Linked DNA regions of Homo sapiens: region 2 is linked to region 1. The links are contacts of gene promoters, found by promoter capture Hi-C in human tissues and cell types (Jung and others, 2019). All regions are on one chromosome and are shown on one strand. Each heading gives the region's core, a stretch centred on a gene start or on the middle of the fragment in contact. The rest is flanking DNA. Distances are from core to core; before and after follow the strand shown. Region 1 holds the start of GAP43 (growth associated protein 43). Region 2 has its middle 41 kb from the start of ZBTB20.

Region 1 (3,122 bases), core at 193-2,692:
TCAGTCTGCGAAGGGCTTCTTTGACCAAGATTGCCCCCACCACACCCCCACCCCCACCACAGTCAAGCATACGCACACACTCACCCGTATCCCACACCCATTTTTCTCTTTAACCTTTGCCAAAATCACTCAAATGCATTCCAACAAATGTTTGAAAGCTTCTTTTGGAGACTGCCATGGCATGGTCGGTTGCTGCGGAATACCACACTCGTCATTCCTTCCCACTCTCACCCCAATCAAGTTTCTAAAATGTCTTTCAAGAAATAAGCGAGCAATTGGAAATGGCTGTAAAACCTGGGCAGTGGGGGAGGGAAGGAGGGGCTCTGATTCTTGCTAATCTTGGATGTGTCCCTCTTCCTGATGAAAATGAGTCACCATACTTATTATCCAGGATGTTAGCCTGTCTCTGGTCACTGACAATCCCAGGAAAGAAGCAAGGGAAGGGGATAAGAGAAAAGACCTGGTTTCCAACAGGTAATACCCGGCTGTCTTTCCCATCCCATCGGAGCTCCTAGGGGCGTGGTCCACCCTCTCCTCCGACCAGCTGGTGCACAATCGGCTGCTGATCTTAGGAAGGGGATTTTCTCCTTCTGCATGGCCAATTTCTCCCCCAGCCCCAGTTGTCTTAGCTTCTCTTAAAAAAAAAAAAAATCTATCAAATCACAGTTTCATTCATTCATTGAAAAATAAATACTAAATAAATAAGACCTGCACGTTTTTCCATAAATACCTGCGCCCCTTCGAAGCTCATGCATGCACGAAATAAGGCATCTTCCGCAGCACATGTGAGAAAATTGTATGACAGAGAGGCAATACTCAGTTCTGAATATTATTTCCTCAACCCTGCTTTTTTGCAAATAATATAAAGAAATGCCTCCCCATCTTGTAGGTAGAGCCCACATCATCTCCCCCACACCCCTTTCTACGTCCACACCCTCAAGACCAGAGACCTCAAATGCTGAGCATTCACTAATAAGAAAAAAAAAAATTATTTCTAGCCAAACAGGCATGTTTTTTCTACCCTCACCCTAATTAGTAGCAGCATTCCAAAACCAGAGCATGAAAGACAGAAAAGAATAAAAGCTGGGATGCAACCATCAGTTACCATATGCTAAGGAAGCGCGAGCACCACGGCCAGAGCAGAAGCAGTAAAAAAATTGTTTGCCTTTACGGGGAAATACTGTACTCGGGTTATTTCACAACAGCAAGAAGTAAAAAATCTTTAGCTCTACCTGTTTGGTTCTTCTCATACAGCACAGCATGGTTGTCTCGTCCCTTGCCTTCTTCCTGCCTTCTCTCCTTTCCTTCTCTCTCTTTCTTATTCCCCCCCTCTCCACCTCTTTTCTGCTCGCTTGCTCACTCGCTCTCTCGCGCTAGCGCGCTCTCTCTCCCTCCCTCCCTCTCTCTCCCTCACACACACCAGGGCAGTTAGCAGCAACTGTAAGGTCCACAGCTATTGCTCATCGCACATGCTCGCTCCCTCTCTCTAGCGCTCTCTCTCTCTCTCCCTCTCTCTCTGGTGCTCTCTCTCCGCTGTCCTCTCTTCCCTCTCTTCTCCTTTTTTCTCCTTCCCCCCAATATCTATCTATCTGTCTTTTTCTTCCCTCTCTCTCCGTCTCTTTCTCGGAATTGTTCTCTAGCCTTCAGTGACTAATCACTTCCCCCAGCCCCTACCCCCATTCTAGACAGTCGCCCCCTCCCAGTCCCCTGCCAGCCTCATGAATATTTAAACACCTCCAATCTGGACCCAATTACCCACCGACTTTTCCACTGCATTGAGAGGGTGATGGGGTGGGGGCAGAGAAGGATATTCCAGTCAATCCAGGAGATATGATAGAGCATGTTTTAGGGAAGAGGGGCTTGAGGAATCCTTGTATTTCTTTAAGAACTCTTTTCCTCTTTTCCTAGTATTATAAAAGCAAAGAACAGCTATTTCTAAAGAGGAATTGTAGTCAGTCCTATACAATATAAGTCATATCTGCCATTACATTTTATGCATAGTTAATAATTGTGGAGGTTAATTTCCCTCAAAAAATGAAATAACATGTAAATATCATACACTGTTTATATATTCTTCTCAGTATACATATAACCTGAAATAAATACAAAGCTTAGATATGCACAAGCATATTTTATATATGTTCCAATATCCTGGAAAAAAATCCACATAAATATATTGCATTTTAAACATTCTAAGCACTTGAGCTCAGAAATAATAAACAATGTTTAAGAATTGGCATCCATATCTAAAATCACATGGTAGTTTTTTGTTTTTTCCTTAATGCACATATACCTGTTTGTAAATTGTGGTTTCTTCTAATTTTACTGAAAAAGCTGAGCACATTCAAACAGGTCTGTGTAATATTGACGGTGATCAAAATGATATTTTACAATTTGGGCATGAGAGATTAAAGTGAATTCATCTGAGATGAGAAGAAACGATAAGTCATGAAGCCTACTTCTTGAATTCCTTCTATGGCCTTTCATAATTTTGGGGGAGGAACATGTGACTCTTAAAGTGTGTATAGCACAATTTTTAGTTATTTATTGTTGAATGAGTTTGAGTGTGTTACTGAAGCTCTTTGCACCTAATTTTCTCATCTTTAAAATGGAGATAATAATGCCAATCTTGACAACATGTTTTGAGGACTAAATGATATAACGCATGCAAAGCACAACAGTCTCTCTGAGTGTATAATAGCTTTACTCCAGAGACTGTACTTTTCTGAAATTCGGGTGACATTTGCAAGTGAATATCTCAAAGAAGTTTTCAAACTATTTCTTGTTGTTCATTAGTGATGACAAGTACCCCTAATTAAACAGCTCATATTCTTCATAGTCCCTCCTAGACCTCCTAGACATAAACCTAGCTAATAAGTGGCAACTAGGCAGCTTATTGTTAGGCATATTTCAGGATCACTGAGCTCAATAAGTGCTTAGTACATTTTAACATAATTTAAGGTATATCTATTTCAAAATGGACTATCTCAGACAGGTACCTGGGAACGATGGTGATGATGATACCCAGGAGGTGATATTTAAAATTAGCCTTAATTATTCCTCAGGAGTCTTCCTGAGAGTGGCCTGCTTCAGATCCGCTGATTTGGTCTTTCATTCTTCTC
Region 2 (3,122 bases), core at 321-2,820, 440 kb after region 1:
TGGTGGTTAATTTACAGGGAAATTGAACCTATTTTATGTTTCAAAATCGGCCCTTACAATATCACCCATCTCTTCCATGATAGTCCCTGATCCTTACGAGCTGAATATCTTTAATTTCTGGCCTTGTGTCTCACGAACCCAATTTATTTTGATTGGCATCTTCCACTGGATCTAAAGATAAGGCTTTAACTACTGTCAGTGTTAAGATTTAGAAGGACTTGATGTCCTTTTTAGACCCAGGAGTCAAAGCCCTATAACTTACTTAATGGCACAAGGACTTTAAAATCACATACAGAAAGTTACACAGATGCAATAATCTTAATTTTAAGAAAACTTTTTAATCTCAGTTTTTTCTAAGCATACCAAACTTAGTAATAATGACGTGGGAATTATTTTGATAAAGTGTAAGATCTAATTATTAGGCCAGTTACCCAAAGGCAAAATAAAAGACCTTCTGCAGTGCAACTACTGTTCCCTATGGGGAATATTATGTTGGAAGGAAACATTTCCTTTAGACCTCTAAGATAAAACCTTTCTTTTCTTTTTTTTTTGCATCAGGCCACAACAGTTAGAAACTGTAGGAAAAAAAACTTATAGGAATTGAAAATGAGTTAAAGGATAGAGTTTGATTTCAGGTCTTTTAAAAGACGAGAGAAAGCTGAAAACAGCAAGATGCAGTAAAAGTTAAACTTTGCATTAAAAAAATTATAATGTCTTGTAATTTATTAAGAGTAGAGCAATACCTTAAGAAAATGTCATGGTTTGAACCAATTCTTTCATGTATAAGTGTGTTTTTTAATCAAAACTCAATCTCTAGAAAGACCATTATAATTTCCCTCTAATTATAGACAGCTTGGTCACATAAAAGTTTTTCTTTTTTTTAATAGATCCTCTCATTATGACTTACACTGACCATTCATGACTGCTTGGAAGTTCTGGTTTGTCCTGAACATCCCTCATTTTTAAAACAACCAGTTATTTTATTCTAGGACAAAATTTACCATATAAGCTTCTTTCTCATATAAAGTCATTTTTCTTTAAGCTTTCTTACCAAAAATACCTCTTTAATTATATTAATATAACTTTCTTTACATCTGTCTTATTTCCTGGTTTCTTTTTCCTTGTTGTATACATAACCCTTAAAGAAGCTTTGAATTAGACAACAATTATTCACCTTTTAAAAAGGATACACTTTAGAAAGAATGTTTTCTTACAATTTTTTTGAAAATACCCAATTGATGAAATACCTATTATTTAATTTAACTTTAGTTTCTAAATTATGACAAGTTTGTCTACAAATATTTATCCCATTACATTTACCTAATTATTTTAATAGTGTACCTAGATTATTTATGATACCTGCAATAGTCATCATTTTAAGTTATGAAACTATAACTGCAAAATTATAACTGGGACAATGAAAAAGGTCTGACCCAACCTACTCCATTTTGCTTTTAACCTCTAAGCTGCCCTTGTTCATTTCCGGGCATTGGATGAATTAACTTTGGGAGTATCATAGTTTATAGTTTAGTTTTGAAAGAGATGATAACAGTCCCTCACAAAACAAACCCCCTTCCTGCCTGGGGACTTGACTGCCTAAAGCTATAGATTAGAAGTTATGGCTATTTCACTAAATAATTCAATATTTAGCTATTTTCATTGAATCAATATCAACCTCTTATTTATCAAAAATTATGCAAGCAAAGATAATTGTATTTTGGGCTGGGTTTATAGTTTTGTATCCCTTATGCCAAATTTTGACACCTTATAGTATTTGGCAGAGATAAGTATGAAATTGCTTGATCAATAAATGAAAATAAACATGTATGCTGAAAATTCTTAAGCCATTTCTACTGTTCTTTACCAATAATTTTAAAGCTAGATTATTAAAGATTTTACTTAAGTCACATGAACTTAAAAACCATTGGGGTTCATTATTTAATTGATGACTACTCACTAAGCCAATTTGGTACCTTGTGGCCAAAACACAACAAAATACATGTACGTACACATAAACACACACATACATTTTCATACACTAAAGATCCTATAGCTTTTACTTCAGAACTCTAGCCGTGAGATATTAATACAAACTTATTGGTCTGCGAAAACAGTAATGAAAAGGAATGGTTGGAGTCTAACAGTGGATTTTATCTTGGTCAAAAAGTAATAGCAGCTTTAAAGCAGGGAGAAAAAAAAACAGAGAAAAAGAGAACTTAAGAACTCTGTAGTTTGAAGGTCGATCTTAGTGCCCCTTTTCTTTCATGTAAATGTGCACAAAGACCATAATAATTCTATTTTAGACAAACTCTAACAAGTAGAGGTGCCATAAAACCAATGGAGTGCCCCAAAGGGGGTCATTCTCCTTGTTTTATCCTCGTTTTTAGATTATTAATTTCCCACTTTTCTTTTTCTTTTTTTTCTTAAAAGGAGGAACTGAGCTATGGCCTAGGGTTTTTGTGGTGTGTGCTGATTGTGGGTGGGACTCCATAGTGTGTTACCACTGAGTTGTTGCCACCCTCTTTCATGTCTCAGTTTCATTCTCTGGAGGTCTACCACCTCCAGGAGGGCTCAAAGCTCAGTGACCAGCTCCCATATGTGCTTCCTGGATGAGCCCTTTTTTAAACAAGTTTGATGGGGATTCTCCATAGGGCTGCTGCAAATCACAGGTGGTCAACCCTCTCTACACTCCCACGAGGCCCCTGGTCACCCACGGGTGCCTTTCAGCTGGGTGGAGCAAAATGTTCATTCTCTTCGAAGCTAAGAAAACTAAATCTCTCATTTACCTATGAAAACAACAGTTCAGCTTCTCACGCAAATGTGCACATACAAGCCAAACTGACATTAATTCTGGGAGAAAAAGCAATAGAGAAGACCCTTTAGAATGCATCTCCGAATTAAAAGTAGAATCCTTAAACAATAACTTCCTAGGAGAGAAAGAAAGGAAAAAAAAAGCCAAAACCACTTCCTGTAAACCACCTTCAGCCACCCCTAACTTTGGAGTTCTTGCCTACCATTATACACACCAAGGTCAAATCTTCTCACAGTACAAGGTAATCTCTAATAGCCCCAAAGCCAAAGAGGTCAAGTCATGCAATACAGGAGAGCAGAGCTTTAGACCT

The links. The method cuts DNA at HindIII sites, captures the fragments that hold promoters and counts their contacts. A contact is called where the count stands out against the background at its distance.
Region 2: a fragment that was not itself captured here is called in contact with the fragment with the promoter of GAP43 in region 1 in 1 of the 25 tissues and cell types used here (dorsolateral prefrontal cortex).

The regions. Positions count from the first base shown.
Region 1 is chr3:115,621,830-115,624,951 of GRCh38, reverse strand. GAP43 (growth associated protein 43) reads right to left here and starts at 1,442. Exons shown (of 3, transcript NM_002045.4): 1 at 1,233-1,442. The coding sequence starts at 1,262. The HindIII fragment of the contact is 4,830 bases long and covers 1-3,122 here.
Region 2 is chr3:115,186,647-115,189,768 of GRCh38, reverse strand. No RefSeq gene overlaps it. Among named protein-coding and RNA genes, the nearest start is that of ZBTB20, 41 kb to the right of the region's middle. RefSeq lists an enhancer at 2,618-2,807. The HindIII fragment of the contact is 3,214 bases long and covers 1-3,122 here.